Linked DNA regions of Homo sapiens: region 2 is linked to region 1. The links are contacts of gene promoters, found by promoter capture Hi-C in human tissues and cell types (Jung and others, 2019). All regions are on one chromosome and are shown on one strand. Each heading gives the region's core, a stretch centred on a gene start or on the middle of the fragment in contact. The rest is flanking DNA. Distances are from core to core; before and after follow the strand shown.

Region 1 (3,135 bases), core at 3-2,502:
ACCTCATCCCCAAAAACAACCTGAGGAGGCCGTTGGAAAGCTCCGAGTTGACAAGTCTCATCCACGCACATGCTCGGTGCTTCCAATCGGTGATCAAGACCACTGCTCTTCATCCAGAGCAGGCAGCAGGGATTCCCAGGTATCCAAAGAAACCAAAACAGGCGGTGTAATTTAGGACTGACTAAGTAATGGCTCGGCCACTTTTAAGTGTGGAAGCAAAACTGACCCCACAGATTTAGAAAACTGTAACACTGCTTATTGGGAGAAACTAGTGTCACCCTGGCTAGTTCTGCTCCCCAAATTCAAAGGTAAATAAACGGTTGAGCATGTCCGATCAGCCTGGAGGGAAACCTCCACCCCCGACTTTGTAGGACTGACATCTGAAGACGTCAGAGACTGCGGTCACAACCGTCGGTACCTCCTTAGGGCGCTTAACAGAGGTCAAAGATGGCCCTCGCACCCTCCTGGCGGGAGAAAGCCCAGGCTCAGGGTGGTCTTCTACACCACCGCCTCTCCCGGGTCCACTTGGAAGCGAGTCCCAGCGAACTACTCGACCTAGGAAACCACTGGGCCGCCACTTCCAGCCTCTTCGGAAGTCGAGGCAACGCTCCTGAACGTTGCCACGGGAACAGCTGGAGGCGGGCGGATATGCCCTAGCGTTATCTAGGGGCTGGCCCGGGGAATGGCGTGGGGGCGGCGGGGCCAAGCAAGCGCCACCTCTGATTGGGCAAAACCCCCTCCCCTCACCTGCCAATAGAAACCGGCCCACTGTACAGACGCGCAAGTTTATAACCCGGGAAGAGCTGCTCTCAGAGCGGAGGGAGACCATATAACCCTGGGACTCTGCCGTACCTCCTAGAGGAACAGAGCGCCTCTCAGGCGTCAGAGGCTGCTGCAAATGCGGGTCAGCGGGTCACGGTCGCGCCTGTCTTGCTGATGCTCATGGGAAATGTAGTTCAAAGGGCATGGGCGGTGCCTTCGGTGCAGGCGAGAGATTGGTCAGCGCGGCGTCGCCGGGGCAACACCCGGCTGAGGCGCCCCGCGTTGTGCGGCGCCACATCCGGGAAGCGGCCTCCAAGCAACCGCTCCGGGTTGAGGTGAGCGCAGGCTGCCAGAGTGGGCGCAGCCTTTCCACCCCGTGGGAGGGCTTGGGGTCGCCCTCTGGGGCCTGAACGGCTCCTGCTGTCGGCGCCCTGGAGGGCCCGCCCACTTCCCGACAGGCCGCGCGCGTCACCTCAGCCTTCGCTCAGGCCTTTCCTACCCTCAACGCCGTTCCGGGGGGCCGGGCCTGGCAAGTCCTCTTGGAACGCCTCCCTCTTGCCTTCCCCTTTTGGGGACAGATCCCGAAGTTCGAGCATCCCTCGGATAGGCCGGGTGTCAGGCCTGGTCTCTCAGGCCCGTCCAGGTGGGCGTCTTTCACTGCAGACCTTCAGGGCCGGGATGCTGTGGCCATCCCTCGACTCCGCGCAACGTGGAGCTTTGGCCCCGTTTTTCTTGGCCTTTGCTTTTCGTTTTCACATGCACGGGCCCCGGCAGTGTGAGTCGCCCACGGCTCGCTGTGGTCAGCGAGCACGATGTCCACGTGCCCCCTCCCCAGAGCCATTCCTAAAGGAGGTCCCACCCAGTCAACCTCCCCGAGATTGTGGAGGGCGACTCGTCCCCGTACATTACAGCCTGGCCCCACCTTCTACCCGCCCACCCTGGTCCACTCTCCTCGCACCTCGGCTAGACACTGTGGCTCCTCAGCCTGGCGCTGGAACTCTGTGATGACTGTCTTTCTCCACCTCTTTAGCGTCATCTCCCAGCAGTCCCCTGCTGGACCCAACTGTTTGCAATTTCCAGGAAGCTCCCTGGACACCTTGCGTCCAAGCATTTGTCCCTGAGGCTTCCTCCTGCTCTCATTTGCCATCATTGTTTGGGTCCTGTGACCCTCCTCCTTCCATGAAGCTTTCTTGGCCTTATCTCTTCTGGCCTCAGAGTACACTTGGTCCTGGTCTCAGCCCCCTGGGCTGAGCCTGGTGTCTGCCTTCCCCTGGCCAGATTCTCTTGGCTGACATTCCGACCCTTCCTTTTCTGTAGGCCCATCTTGACGATTCCAAGACCACCCCCTTGAGCAAGAATGCCATCCCCTCTGGGTCCCCCATGCCTGCCCGTCATGGACCCAGAGACCACCCTTGAGGAGCCTGAGACTGCCCGCCTCCGCTTCCGAGGGTTCTGCTACCAGGAGGTGGCAGGTCCCCGAGAAGCCCTGGCCCGGCTGCGTGAGCTGTGTTGCCAGTGGCTGCAGCCTGAGGCACACTCCAAGGAGCAGATGCTGGAGATGCTGGTGCTGGAGCAGTTCCTGGGCACACTGCCTCCCGAGATCCAGGCCTGGGTGCGCGGTCAGCGGCCAGGCAGTCCTGAGGAGGCCGCTGCCCTAGTCGAAGGACTGCAGCATGACCCTGGGCAACTGTTGGGCTGGGTGAGTGTGGCTGGCATCAGCTTCTTGGAGGGATAGACCCTGGCTAGAGCCATTGTGACCTACCTCTTCTCCTCAGATCACAGCCCATGTCCTGAAGCAGGAGGTGCTCCCTGCAGCCCAGAAGACAGAGGAACCACTTGGGAGCCCCCACCCCTCAGGGACAGTGGAGTCCCCTGGGGAAGGTCCCCAGGACACCAGAATAGAGGGGTCTGTCCAGCTCAGCTGCAGTGTGAAGGAGGAGCCCAATGTCGATGGACAGGAAGTGGGTGAGGTTGGGGTCCCACCAGAGATGAGGGACTCCTGGAGGAAGTGTGGACATTCCTGGCTAGGGTGGGAGTCCCAGGAGAGGTGTGTCAAGGCTGGGACTCCTGAAGTGAATGTGGATGTCCCTGTCTGGGATGGGGACCTGGGAGGCAGGAGCCAAGGGCTGGCTACGTGCCATGTCACACAGCAGAGGAGCTCCTCATCTGCCATGGCTCATGTGGGCAGCCCCTGACACCACCCTTCCATCTGCCCCACTTTTCAGCACCCTCCAGCCCTCCACTTGCAGCACAGTCCCCTGAGGGGAACCATGGACACCAAGAACCAGCCTCCACATCCTTCCACCCACCCAGGATTCAGGTGAGCAGCCCCAAGTGGGAAGTATAGGCCCCAGGTGTGAGAAGGGACTGTCC
Region 2 (2,701 bases), core at 1-2,500, 1.2 Mb before region 1:
ATATATTTGTAGTGTTTTTTAAATATATTTCTTTGTATTTTTGTATTAATTTTTTAGTGGTTGCTTTAAGTAGTATAATGTACATATGTAACATAATTACAGTTAATGGTATGAAAAATTTAGCACTTTGATGTATAGAAACCTTACTTGGTCCCTTCACCTTGCCTGTTAATATAATTGTCTAAAGTAATTCCTCTTCAAAATTGAGCACCATGTTGGAAAATGTAATTTTTGCTTCCACTGTCAAATATATTTTACAAAAGTCACAGGAAGTATTGCTTGTTGATCTCTTTACCCATTCCACTATTCTTTCTTGAAATTCTAAGCCACCTTCTATTAACATTTTCTTTCTGTTTGGCGAACTTGTGTAACCTTTTTTCTAGGGTCAGTCTGCTGGTGTCTCTAAAAGTGTCTTTATGTTCCCTTCATTCCTGAGGGATATTTTTGTGGGATAATAGGATTTAGGGTCTGCAGTTCTTTTAGTACTTGAGAAACATGTTTGTTCCTTCTGTCCGCTATGGTTTCAGATGAGAAATCTGTTGCCATTTGAACCATTGTTCCCTAGTTCATAATGTGCCATTTTTATCAACCTGCGTTCAAAGTGTTTTGTTTTTTTTGTAGTGTTCAGAAGTTTGGTTATGAGGTGTGTGACATGGAATTTTTTTGAGTGTATCATGTTTGGTTTTTGTTTAGCTTTTTGATTTGTCGGTTTATGCCCTTTGCCAAATTTGGGAATTTTTAACCATTATTTCTTGAAATATTTTTTCATCCCTACTCTTTCTCCTCTCTGTGATATGAATGGTAGAGCTTTTGTTACTGTCTCAGAGGTCTCTTGTGCTTTCATGTTTACCCCCTTTTTCTGGTCTATTTTTCCCTTTTTTTCATATTGGTTAATTTCTGTTGACTTTTTTTCAGCTCACTGATTCTTTTTTTCTGCCATATGCAGTCTACTGTTGAGCTTGTCCAATGAGTTTTCGTTTTGGTTTTTGTATTTTTCAGTTGTTTAATTTCCATTTGTTTTGTTTTGTTTTGTTTTGTTTTTTTGAGACAGACTCTTTGCTCTGTTGCCCAGGCTGGAGTGCAGTGGCGCGATCTCTGCTCACTGCAAGCTCTGCCTCCCGGGTTCATGCCATTCTCCTGCCTCAGCCTCCCGAGTAGCTGGGACTACAGGTGCCCGCCACCATGCCCGGCTAATTTTTTGTATTTTTAGTAGAGACGGGGTTTCACTGTGTTAGCCAGGATGGTCTCGATTTCCTGATCTGGTGATCCACCTGCCTCGGCCTCCCGAAGTGCTGGGATTACAGGTGTGAGCCACTGTGCCTGGCCTCCATTTGGTTCTTTTGTACATCTTTGATTTCTTTGCTTAGTTTATAATACTAAAGGGCTCAGAAAACAGAAAAAACTAAATTCCAGAGTCATGGTTTTCTGGTGGTTTGTCTCAATATTTGAATAGAAATCCTAAATTATCTGGAGGAGTAGAAGTCCTGTAATCTTTTATATTGGGCTTCTTAAATATTTCTGTCAACAGATCTTATATCAGGGTGATCTGCATATCATTCAGAGTTACGTACTCCACGGGAAGGTTGTATGTAAAATCCTCCAGCTCTGTAAGCCTTGTTATATCCTCAATGGAGAAGGGGTCATTCCTTTTCTAAGATCACTCTTACACTTTTTTATTAGACACACACACACCCTTCCCCAACCAAACTTGTCTAAGTCCTCTGTCTTTCATACTCTTGTTTAGTCTTTAACTTCTCCTTATTAACCAGCTTCTTTCCCATAATGTATAGCTTTAGTCGGATCTCAAGCCTCGTTTCCAACCTATTTCACCCTTCCTTGCCTATCAAGCTCTGGTTATTCTTTCTTCCACACACATGCCCTGAGTAACTATTCTGTGCACTGTCGCCACCCCTTTACATTTCCTTTTACTCCCCAGATACTACTAAATGGCTTCCACCACCGTTGCCTGACTTAAGCACGTCTCAGAAAGGTCCCTTTTGACCCCCTCACTCTCTTTTTGGACCTCCATACTGCTAAATCTCTGACTTGAAGGTCCTTTCCTGGCTTCTGTGAATTCCTGGCTTTTTTCCTTTTTAGGGTCTGTGTCTTTCTTCCATCTGTAAAACAGCTTTACTTCCCAGCATCCATCATGATCATTGCTGTTTTCTAACTTGTCCTTCACCCCATGACTGAGTTAATTTGCGCTGAAGACACTTTACTCTCAATTATCTACAGTGTTTCCCTAAATCTGTGTCTCCAGGTTGGATGTTTCTCATGTCGTTAACCACTGGTCATCCTTCCACACCTTTTCTGTATTTGCACTCACTGAGCCTATATGCATGTATCATGTGGCCATGACCTTGGCCGTGGGGATGCACCCATAATCATCATAAGAGAACACAAATTATTACTGTGTATCAGACATTGTTTCGAATGTTTTACATGCGTCAGCTCTTTTAACCTTTATGACAACTCCATAATGTTATTTCCCCCCTTTAACTGATTAGAAAACTGAGGTACAGAAAGATTAAGGAATTTGTCAAAGATTTCACAATTATGAAATTTGGGTTTGGGGACTGGAAGCCACTGCACTGGCTTCAGAATCCATGTCCTTAACCACTTTATTGCTTCTCATAAGGTGGGTCTTTGTTTCCTGGTCATCACTTGTTTTTACTAAAATGGGTCAAACTGTGCTCATTTA

The links. The method cuts DNA at HindIII sites, captures the fragments that hold promoters and counts their contacts. A contact is called where the count stands out against the background at its distance.
Region 2: a fragment that was not itself captured here is called in contact with the fragment with the promoter of ZNF446 in region 1 in 1 of the 25 tissues and cell types used here (spleen).

What each region holds. Positions count from the first base shown.
Region 1 is chr19:58,475,100-58,478,234 of GRCh38, forward strand. It overlaps ZNF446 (zinc finger protein 446), which reads left to right and starts at 1,253. Exons shown (of 7, transcript NM_017908.4): 1 at 1,253-1,405; 2 at 2,080-2,461; 3 at 2,538-2,727; 4 at 2,988-3,082. The coding sequence starts at 2,120. It overlaps ZNF324 (zinc finger protein 324), which reads left to right. Exons shown (of 4, transcript NM_014347.3): 4 at 1-337. RefSeq lists enhancers at 342-431, 492-551, 792-1,041, 863-1,157, 1,312-1,511. The HindIII fragment of the contact is 17,703 bases long and covers 1-3,135 here.
Region 2 is chr19:57,258,480-57,261,180 of GRCh38, forward strand. ZNF805 (zinc finger protein 805) reads left to right here. Exons shown (of 4, transcript NM_001023563.4): 4 at 1-2,701. Among named protein-coding and RNA genes, the nearest start is that of ZNF805, 19 kb to the left of the region's middle. The HindIII fragment of the contact is 9,939 bases long and covers 1-2,701 here.